Linked DNA regions of Homo sapiens: all the other regions are linked to region 1. The links are contacts of gene promoters, found by promoter capture Hi-C in blood cells and fetal thymus (Javierre and others, 2016). All regions are on one chromosome and are shown on one strand. Each heading gives the region's core, a stretch centred on a gene start or on the middle of the fragment in contact. The rest is flanking DNA. Distances are from core to core; before and after follow the strand shown. Region 1 holds the start of LDB2 (LIM domain binding 2). Region 2 has its middle 63 kb from the start of QDPR. Region 3 overlaps LOC124900674 (a long non-coding RNA gene).

Evidence for each region. The method cuts DNA at HindIII sites, captures the fragments that hold promoters and counts their contacts. A CHiCAGO score of 5 or more calls a contact.
Region 2: a contact is called between a fragment that was not itself captured here and the fragment with the promoter of LDB2 in region 1, in 2 of 17 cell types (endothelial precursors and naive CD4 T cells). The highest score is 6.1, in endothelial precursors.
Region 3: a contact is called between a fragment that was not itself captured here and the fragment with the promoter of LDB2 in region 1, in 1 of 17 cell types (M0 macrophages). The highest score is 5.5, in M0 macrophages.

The regions. Positions count from the first base shown.
Region 1 is chr4:16,896,417-16,900,270 of GRCh38, forward strand. LDB2 (LIM domain binding 2) reads right to left here and starts at 2,229. Exons shown (of 8, transcript NM_001290.5): 1 at 1,938-2,229. The coding sequence starts at 2,069. The HindIII fragment of the contact is 2,891 bases long and covers 1-2,666 here.
Region 2 is chr4:17,447,723-17,451,261 of GRCh38, forward strand. No RefSeq gene overlaps it. Among named protein-coding and RNA genes, the nearest start is that of QDPR, 63 kb to the right of the region's middle. The HindIII fragment of the contact is 7,832 bases long and covers 1-3,539 here.
Region 3 is chr4:16,292,904-16,296,372 of GRCh38, forward strand. The region is part of intron 2 of LOC124900674 (a long non-coding RNA gene); the gene reads left to right. Among named protein-coding and RNA genes, the nearest start is that of TAPT1-AS1, 68 kb to the left of the region's middle. The HindIII fragment of the contact is 787 bases long and covers 1,713-2,499 here.

The DNA.
Region 1 (3,854 bases), core at 979-3,478:
TTAATGAGGGCAAGAGTAGGGAAATCTTGCAGATAAGTCTCCTAGCTCAGACCTGGCCAAGTGCTCAGTAATGGGCAGGAGGGCAGGCAGATATCAGAGAAAGCTGCCTGTGTTCCTAACTGCAGGAGGATGGAGAAGAATCTCTGCAATTCCTCAAAAACTTTCTAAAATGTAAGGTGGACAGGTCATTTTTAAATATTGTTGCTGTTCAAGAATTGAGCCATAATGGTCCCTGGCCTCTTTTTTTATAACTAATCATACTTTTAAAAGACTATTTTTTCCAAATTTGTATTGCAATTAATGTGTGCCTGAACTATAAGACATTTTCTATCCTCCTAATTATGAAAGCAGCCTGTGTCAACCAATGGTTTATGCAGAGATTTAAGATTCCAACACACAGTTGCAAAGATCTGAAGGAAATATACAAACTGTTACACACACAAAGCAACATACACAAAACAGCAAGCACAAATATCAGTCACTGCCAACAGTTCACTATCCTAAGCAAAACATAGTTTGCACTTCTATAGAAGCTACTGGCTTCTAGAAAGAGCAAGAGTACCAGCAGTCATATTTAGCGTCTATGGTGTATTAACATATAAAGAAAACAGCAGTCATTAAAGACAACCCAGCTTTTAAAATACATATAAGTCCTTGTCCAGCAGTTAGCCAATCAGAAAGCAGGTCACATCTTGTTAGCTGTATTAAATACACGAAACGTCATGAATTCTCTATGGCTCTGTTGACAATTCAAGCCAACTGTGTTTTATCCCATAGCACAAACTTAATGGAGTCCCTTCCTAGAGTTAAAAGTCAATCTTCAATCTAAAATTCCACCAGAGCTATTCCCTAAAAGCTCTTTGGCATAAATCTTGTGGTATTTATACTCTGCAGAGAAGACTAAATTCCTAGCAATTTCCACTTCCTAAAGTGACTTTGGTGCACCTATAACAAACTCCTTTTCCGAACACTTCCACACAAAGCCCCAACTTACAGGCAGATGGACAATCCAGCAGCAAGACCTGCCAGCTGAGCTAGCACAGAGAAAAAGTCAACTGACATAAAATATTTAAATTGCAGGAGGCGAGTCTGGAGTTTTGCATTTAAAAAGTTCTGAAAGTCCTGTTCTCTCTGCTCCCAGAGTTGCTGGCTGCCTAGGAGGCTGAGTCTCCCTCTCTCAGGCACAAGATCTCAAATATGCAAAAACTAGAGCTGACTTGAAAGCTGAACCAGCTCCTGTCCTAAGGTAGAGTGATAGGGGGGCACGGCCGACAGCAATAGGAGAAAGTCTAGAGTCCCCTTGCCCCAAGCAACTGGTTTCTGATTTTAACACTGAAATATACAAACATGTGTCCCTCCAGGGCTAGTTCTGAGAAGTAGGCAGGTTTACTCTTCTGCCCCTTTTTACCTCGATTTTGGTGACTCTGAAAAGTAAATACAGGTCAAAGCAGACTTCCTCTAGGATTTGTAAAAAAGAAAATATATATATATATATATATATATATATATATATATATATATACACATATGTATATATATATATATATATATATATATACACATATGTATATATATATATAGCCAGATGCAAACAATCACAAAATTCCTTGGAATTATATCTCAAGAAACACCAACAGGACTGACTCAGAGCCTGTAAAACACCAGAGTTCTGGAAGAGCAACATTTCTGGAAACCCGGCATGTGAATCAAGTGCTGGGTTGTCTCAAGATTCCGGCAGAAACTGTCCTCTGCTACAAGAGTTGCTGTGCCTGGAAACCCAGCGTCCAAACTCGTGGATTCATCCTGGCGCTCATTTCCACGTACGTGGTAGTATCAAGTGGGACACTTCCCATAGAATTCAGCCAGAAACCCTAGGAAAAGCTCATGCATAGCTTAACAAAAATACACAAACACATCCCCAAGGTTGAAGTACTTACCTCTGTGCGAGACTGCAGTCTCTTGTTCATCTCATAGATTCGGTACTCTGGCTGTACCATGTATGGTGTATGCCTCCTATAAAATGGGCCGAAAGGAGAAGAATAGAAGGGGTCATGTGGTGTGCTGGACATCTTGCCTGCTTTTCGAAAATCAAGCTAAACAGAGTATCAGTAACGTCCATGCAGAGCACATGGGCTGTGTTCTTCCCAGTACAAAGTAGACGCACGCACACACGCTCACACACACACAGAGGCAGGCAGGCAGGCAGGCTGAACACGCTGGCTGGGAACTGCTGTCGGAGCCCTCTATAGCAGGAGAGGAGAGGGAGAGGAGAGGAGGGAGGGAAAGAGGGAGGGAGGGAGGGAGCACGGGAGAGGAGGGAGAGGGAGAGAGCAGGAGCTCCAGAGAGGGAGGGAGGTTGGTATGGAGGAAGGGAGGGAAGAAGGGAGGGAGGGAGGGAGGGAGGAGGGAGGGAGGGAGGGGGAGAGAGAGAGAGAGAGAGAGAGAGAGAGAGAGAGAGAGAGAGAGAGAGAGAGAGAGAGAGAGAGGAGCTGGATAGCTTTAGGCACCACTGCTTGTTTTTAAAGAAGCAGTTTGTGGAGAGGTCATTTCCTGTCCACATTGTAGACTAGTTCACAAATATAATTCTCCTCACAGTCTGACAAGAGGTCTAAGGTTTGGTTTTAATTTTTTTCCTCCAGCCAGGACCCTTCACAACCTGATTGCTAAGCTTGTTAGCATAGAGGTGGTCTAACCGCTACATGAGCCGCTCACCCCTGACAACCACACTGTTGTAATGTATCAGAAATGTTGATTACTACAAAATACAGAAACACGGGCACTGTGGTGCCCCGAATTGGGACCGGTGATTCACTCACATGCAGAGATTTATTTCAGCACTAATCTCCCTATGTAGTTTTGCTTTACTTGCTGTTGTTCCAAGGGCTGTTATATTCTTTGCCCTCCACTCCATCTCACTCCCATCTCTCCCCACTCACCCCTCTTCCCAGCCACCTCCCTCTTCTCCAAAGACTTCATTCAGGCCCTTAAGGTGCCTGGGCATTTTCAGGTAAAAACAGTCGTTCTGAATGTGGAAGGTATAAAATACACTTAAGGAGAGCAATGGTCTTTTTTCCCAGGAAGGAAAAACAAACAAACAAACAAACAAAAAACCCAAACAGACCTCCCAATAAGACAGGAAAAGCAAAGAAGGAGAAAACTGCCACAAAAATGACCACGGAAAATTTGGTTGAGAAGGAAATTGCAAATAATTGAATGGATCATCCCCAGATAACATGTCCAACTCTTATGGAGACAAAGTCTGTATTTTCCAAGATTGGTCAAGTAAACAAATATTTTCCCAACTGTGGTATATGATAACCATAAGAAATCCCAACAGCCCATGGAAGGGGAAAATCTCTATAGAGAATTAAACAATCTATAAAATAATCAAATTCTGCTAGAACCCACTATAACCAGAGATACGACACTTAAACAAAGCCCAGCCACACAAAATTTAAATGTATTGAGCTAACACCTAGGTAGGTCAGTGGTATTAAGGAAATAAAGCAAAGGACCACCAAAAAGCATAATGAATTCAAGACCTGAATGCAAATGCATGCAAATGAGACATTTCTTCTTTTTAATAAGCAGATTAATTAACTTTCTGCCCCAATCATGGCTTGGGTATCTCCAAGTCACTAGCCAACAGGGGATAGAGTATTGCTAATTCTGCAATTTACACTCTTAAAAATACTCAGACACAGAAAAGTGTATTGCTGTCTTGATCAGTCCTTCTTCATAATTGCATGAAATATTTGCTGAGTCCACCCCAAACTTCCAGCAGCGCAGCCTAACACACTAATGTCGCTTCCCAGGATGAGATTAGGGTAGGTATTACACTAAGGCTGCTTGGA
Region 2 (3,539 bases), core at 851-3,350, 550 kb after region 1:
CCAGGACAACTAAGGTCAATGCAGTAACTCAGCAAACTACATGTCCCTTGCCTTGTGGCTCTAACATCTCAAGACAAGATTGAAGAGAGTGTGTGGCAGTACCAACATCTGTATGTTCTATGCTTGGGCTCTGAAGTGAAACTGGACACATAGCTCCACCTACTGGCAAAGGACCTAGGAAATGTAATCCTCTGTGGACCCAGAAAGGAAAGAAAAACCAGATACTGATAAGCTCTGGTACTGTCTCTTCTAAGGGTTTCACAATAACTTTTTTGTTGTTGTTTTTTGGACACAGGGTCTCTCTCTGTTGCCCAGACTTGGATGCCCAGTGGTACAATCATAACCAACTTCACTGAAGCCTCAACCTCTTAGGTTTGAGCAATTCACCAACCTCAGCCTGTTGAGTAGCTAACACTCCAGGTGTGTGCCACCACCCAGCTAATTTTTTTTTCTTTTTTTTCTTTTTTTTTTTTTTTTTTTTTGGTGGAAACAGAGTCTCACTATATTGCCCAGGCTGGTCTCCAACTCCTGGCCTCAAGTGATCCTCCCACTTCAGCCTCCCAGTGTTCTGGGATTACAGGCATGAGGCACTGTGCCTGGCTCACAAGGACTTTTATAAGTTAAAAATGTGCAAGTGCTCCACCCATCAAACCCATCCCTCTTGTAAAGCAGTGCCATGAACCACTACATGCACTTGGAAGGCAGATTAGAAGGGGCAGCTTGCTGCTCCCGCCAAAGATTTACCTAAGAAGACTAAGCCAGGACCAGTCTCCTCCACATCCCCTGAAGCAGAAACCTCCCCTGCACAGATCAGAAGGGGAAAGTGCAGCCTCCCTGCCTTTCTCACCTACAGTCTTATTTATGGGGTGGTGAGGGCGGGGGGCCTGTATGCCTATTTGTTTACCAGAGGTGTTTTAGCCTAATTGGTTAGGAAAGAAACAAAGCATTTAGACAAATAATTGGCCATTCCAGGACATCCACCCTTGAAGAGTTCCCTGACAAGGAAAAGAAGATTCAAGAGTAAAGTTTGAAAGGTTTCAGCTTTCTTTCCAATGTTAGAAGAAAAACCTTAGCCAAAGTAAATGTAACAGTTGAATTGAGCAAGAATGATTCATGAATCAGCCAGCCTCCAGAGCCAGAGTAGGCTCAGAGAGTCCAGAGCAGCCATAGGGTGGAAGAAGATTTATGAACAGAAAAAGGAAAGTGACACACAGGAAACAGAAGTGAGGTATACAAACAGCTGGACTGGTGACAGCTCAGGCATTTACCTTATTTGAACACGGTTTGAACAGTTGGCACCCTTTGACTGGCCAAAACTCGGTGATTGGCACAAGAGTAGGTTACAGTCTGTTTATATCTCCGTTTAGGTTATAGTTCATGATGTACAGAGAAATCTTTAGGCTGAACTTAAAATATGTAAAGAGGCAGCTCTAGACTAAACTATTTAACACCAAATTCAATAACTAATTTTATTTTAATATAATACTTCTCTTTGCTTATAGATATTGGAATTCAACACCTCCAACAAATATTCATTGAATACTTAGAATATACCTGACTGCAGGAAATAGAAGCCCAAATATTTTTCAAACAACTATGATGTTCCAAGTTCCAAACTGTATGTTCTTTTATTTTATTTATTAAACTTTATTTTATCCTTTATTAAAGGATAAATTACTTTATCCTTTTCGCATCCTTTGACGTTCTTACGATTGCTCCCATTTTGCAGAAAAATAAACTGAGGCTCAAAGAGTTGAGCAGTTTAGCCAAGTTCAGGGCTAGGAATAGTGGGAAAATGGGCATCTCAACTACATTGGTCTGGCTTATGATAATGGAGGCCCACATATTCATTCCAAATCAATTAAAACTTAGAAGTTGTTGGTTTAACAACCATTTTTAGACTTGGTATTACTTGAAAGTATAATCAAGGGATCATTTATTCATTAGAGTAACTACAGTTCTATTTGAATAAGCTGAATTTTTTTCATGCTAATTATGTCTTTTGTGTACTATCCATTATGGCATGATGATCTTTTCAACTTCATCCACTTCCCTTTCTCTGTAATAACTCATTGAACAGAATGCAGTTCTATAAATGGTCCAGGGATGTACTCCTATCCCAGGATTTAAAAAGATAATATTCATAAGGCACTTAACAAAATGCCCATAACTAAGTAATCAGTGTATAAAGATTATTTATTTTCTTTAGTAAAGTTGCAGAGCGTTGGTCCTTATGTCGTATAGTAAGTGAAAACCTAAAAAATAAAAACCCTAATACCTGATAAGAACTGTAAATATCACAAACCTATTAGAAGTGAGATAGAGATGGAGACCATTATATGTGTCTAAAATGACGCATCTTTAGCTTCAAACACACACTCATGGGGCTTAACAAGAGCAATTGTGTGTTCACTCATAGAAAGACAACAATCAAAACAAATTTAGAAATATTCTGAAAAGTTGGGAATCTGTTGTCAAAATTATGACTAAAAGGCAAGATATAAATAGAAGTTTTATAATATTTCTTAGCTTTTTTCTGAATGAACCCTCCCTTAATACTAGATAAGCCTATTGTTTAGATTTTCTTACATTTTATTTTATGCACATTTTCAGAAGCCATTTACACAAAATTAGGATACTGCCAGTGTGTACTTTTTTTACACAATAAGTCTACTTTGTTCACTGTCTCCCCAGTATCCAAAGTAGTGTCTGGCACACAGCAGGCTCTCAGGAGGTCCTTGATGAATAAATGAATGACCAGATCTACATAGGATAATGCATGTGACAAAGAGGAAAAAAAACTTCAAAAGCTAGAGCTGAATTCCCCTTAGGGAGATAGCTGCCCTTTTGTGGATAATCCATTGTGATGGTTAATTTTATGTGTCAGTTTGCCTGGGCCATTAGATGCCCAGATATCTGGTCAAACGTTATACTGGGTGTGTCTGTGAGGGTGTTTCTGGATGAGATTAACATTTGAATCAGTACACTAAGAAAAGAAGATTGCCTTCCCTAATGTGGGAGGACCCCATCCAATCAAATGAAGACCTTAACAGGACAAAAAGTCTGAATAAAGGGAAACTTCTCCTGCTTAACTGCCTTGAGCCAGGACATTGGTCTTTTCAGGCCTTAAGACTCATACTGAAACATCAGCTCTTTTTCTTTTTAGTTATTTATTTTTAATTTTTTTAATTGACACATAATTGTACATATGTATGGCATACTTAGTGATATTGCAATACATATGTAAGGCATAGTGATCAGATCAGGGCAATTAATATAACCATCATGGCAAACATTTATCTTTTTTTTGTGTTGGGACTGAGATGGGATTGTTTCCTTGACCTCGACCCCCTTTGTGGGCAGGAACTGGAGTGGCTCATTTCACTCAGCCTGCAGTCCATGGATGGCTAACTGTTAGCAGCTCAGTGAAGGGTCAGAGTGATAGCCTCCTGCACCTGTCCTTTTTGACACCTGAGTTCTTGTTCGGTATCCAGGAAGAATCAGGTCACATGAACTATTTGAAGGGTAGTGTATGTGGA
Region 3 (3,469 bases), core at 856-3,355, 600 kb before region 1:
ATAACATAATGTAACCTGATGTTCTGACAACCCCACTTATACTCAGGCTAAATTTAAAGGTCACCATTGCAGGGAAATAGTGGCATGAGAATAAAAGTGCCTTAAACATGGATTTCACTGATGTTTCCTCATTTCAAAATTCTTACGCTGTAAAATAGAGGCAAAATGGCCTGTGAGCTTGAAAATATATGAAGTGAAGAATCCATTTCTTGGGAACAAGGTGGTTTTAGGAAAAATTGTAAAATAGGTAGACACAAGTGTACAGTAGCCAAAGTTTATCTTAGATGTTCTCTGTAAAATCGTGCTTATTCATTCTTTTCCTTTGTATTTACCAAATGCCTACTATGTGTCAGGAATTGTGCTAAGCCCTGTGATCAAATGGCATGGGAGACAAACAATCCCTGCTTTCACAGAGCTCACAGTTTAGCAGGGAAGAAAGACATGGAAATAAATAATTATAACAAAGTGAGATGAAGGTGGCGAAAGAGGAAATGCATTTGGGAGCACACAGCAGGGGGGCCTGTAATAGTCTAAAGGTGTGGACAGCACTTTCTCCTGATGAGGTAATGCTTTACTGAAAGCTAACACATCAGTAGAAGAAAAGCATTTAAGGAAAGGGGAAAGTGTAATACAGATCAATGGGACAGCAGAGCTAGAAGCTAGGAGAGGCAGAAGAGCAGGCCACAGCTGGGACTAAAGATAACCTGGAGCAGAACTGGCAGACTACTGCCCACTGGCCACATCCTGCCTGCTGCCTATTTTTGTAAATAAAGTTTTATTGGAATACAGCCACATACATTTGTGTACTTATGGTTTATGGCAGCTGCTGCCATACAATGGCTGAGTTGATTAGCGTGTGGCAAGTATCATAGTAGGCCCTTGATAAATAGTTGTCTGTATTCTCCCCATTTTACAGGTAAGAACATTGAAGGGAAATGGCTTAAGGAAGAACAGAAAGTTCCTATCTTCTTAGGAAAGGGCTCATTGTTCTTTGGCCTTGAAACAATTGCCAGACATGGTTTTAAACTTTTCCTAATTGGTCATTAGCTATTTTGCATCAGCACAAACACTGCTGAAAGTCATCCAATCAGCAAGACTGTCACTCAGGCATACAGCTAAATATTACCCAATCTGTAAGTACCCCTACTTCTGAGAAATTCCATGAATCCCTGAACTCCATACATCCCAAATAAATATATATAGCCAGCTCTCAGCTGTGCTCAGAGAGACTGGGCTTTACAAGTTGTTTTTCTCACTGGTTATTATGGCCTCTTTTTTGGAATACCCAAAATGAGTGAAGGAACTGAACTGGGATTCAATTCCGGACTATCTTCTTTCAAATCCCATACTCTCTTGTCTACTCTTCTTCTCTTAGAGTTTTGAATGCATGCTGCTGGTGTTAGTGGAGACGATGGTAGCTGGGTAGCTGGTACACAATATTGGCATTAAATAACATCACATAGGAAGGAAGTCATTTCCTTCTCTACCTTCAATTCTGTTTTAATCCTTCTTCATATACCCAAGATAAACTCTCAGTTGAGAGATAGTACACATAGCAGTTAACAAAACAGGCTCTGGAGCCAGATTTTCTACTGCTATTTTAGTTATCTATTGTTGGATATGAAACTAGCCCCAAACTTAGAGATGGAAGACACCAATAAAAATTTATTATCTTGCACATATCATGTGGGTCAGGAATGAAGAAGTGTCTAAGCTTGGTGGTTCTGACTCAGCATCTCTCATGAGATCATAGTCATGATGTTAGCCAGAGCTGGAGTCATCTGAAGACTTGAGTGAGCAGGAGGATTCTCTTCCAAGAATGCCCCCTCCCATGGCTTGCAAGTTGGTGCTGGCTGCTGACAGAGGCCTCAGTTTCTTGCCTTTCCATAGTGCTGCATGAATGTTGTCATGACGTGGAAGCTGGCTTCCTTGAAGTAGCTGATGCCAGAGAGCAAGGCAAAAGGAACAATATCTGTTATGATCTATCCTTGAAAATCACACAATATCACTTGTGTGTGCTTTGGTCACAAATACACTATGGGAGCTGACTACACAAGGGAGTAAATACCAAGAGGCAAAGACCACTGGGGGTCAGTCACCTGGGAGGCTGCCACTACCACTTACTAGCTCTGTAATGTTGGGAAAATTATTAAACTTCACTGTGCGTCAGTCTCTCTACCTATAAAGTGAGAATAATAATATAACCTACCTCATATGCAAGGTTTTTTTTTGAGAATTAAATGAGGTAATATCAGTAGGGCCTATGAAAGAGTGCTTAGAACTGAGTGCATACTAAGAAATGTCCACCGTTAGTACTTTGATAACTGTCTAATCCTGTAATCCAGTGTTACTCAAAGAGACAGTACTTCTTGAGATCAGGAGTCTGACACAGCAATGTAAATCAATGCCTTGCTTTCTTCATTGAAGAAGTCATAAATTTGTTTTTAATGTCAGTTGTAATATTGTATATAGTGATTTAGTTAATTTACATTTGGAGCAAGCTTATTAAGTGTTTGTAAACTAAAAAAGCAGTTTGTAGGCCAATAATCTGTCCATAAACCACACTTTGAGTACTGCTTTCAACACTTGCTAATCTTTTGTTAACATAAGAGTATAAGGAATAGTCCTTAATGGCATCATTTTCTTTTCTTTTCTTATCTTCTAAATTTCTCAAAATATAGAGGGAGGTGGGTAAGAACAGATAATTTTATGCAACTGATAATGTGCTATCAAAATGCAGAAGGATGGGAAGAATGAGCTAAGAGGAATAGATATTTACAGGCAAAGAAGTTTTGGAAAGTCATGGAAGGGAAGAATTCATCTTTGTAATGGCAAATGGCTGTTTTTATCCATTTATAGACATGTTATAAATTTTTTCTTTTAAATAATCTTATATCTTAGCCTGGGTTCTCCAAAAGCAAAGCCCAAGACGAAGGTTCTCATATGGGCTAATCCTCTGGAAAATGATTTCAGGGAGCAGAAATTTGGGAGTAGATCAGGAAGCAGATACAAGAATGAGTTGTTGAACTGGCCTCTGCTGCGAGGGTGGGAGTTCGGTCTCACCAGGATGTTCTGAGGGCCTTTTGAAATCCTTATGTCCCTGGGAGATGAAAGAGAAAAACATTTATCCATCGGCTTCTTTCCTTCCATTAGTCAAAGATGGTCCCCTGGTCACCACTCTCTTTTACTTCCAGGATGCATGTTGCATGTAAGTGTTCTATGGGTTCCAAAAGGGAGTGGGCAGCAGTGTGGAATTCCAAGCTAGGCAACAAGAGGTATGTGGTCTAGCTAGAGGCCAAGAGCTCTTTGGTTATTTCTTTGCAGAGCTAGGAAAAGTCTGCTGCTTAGAACTTTCAGAGTTGGCCGGGTGTGGTGGCTCACCCCTGAATCCCAGCACTTTGGGAGGCCAAAGTGGGTGGATCACCTGAGGTCAGGAGTTCAAGACCAGCCTGACCAACAAGGTGAAACC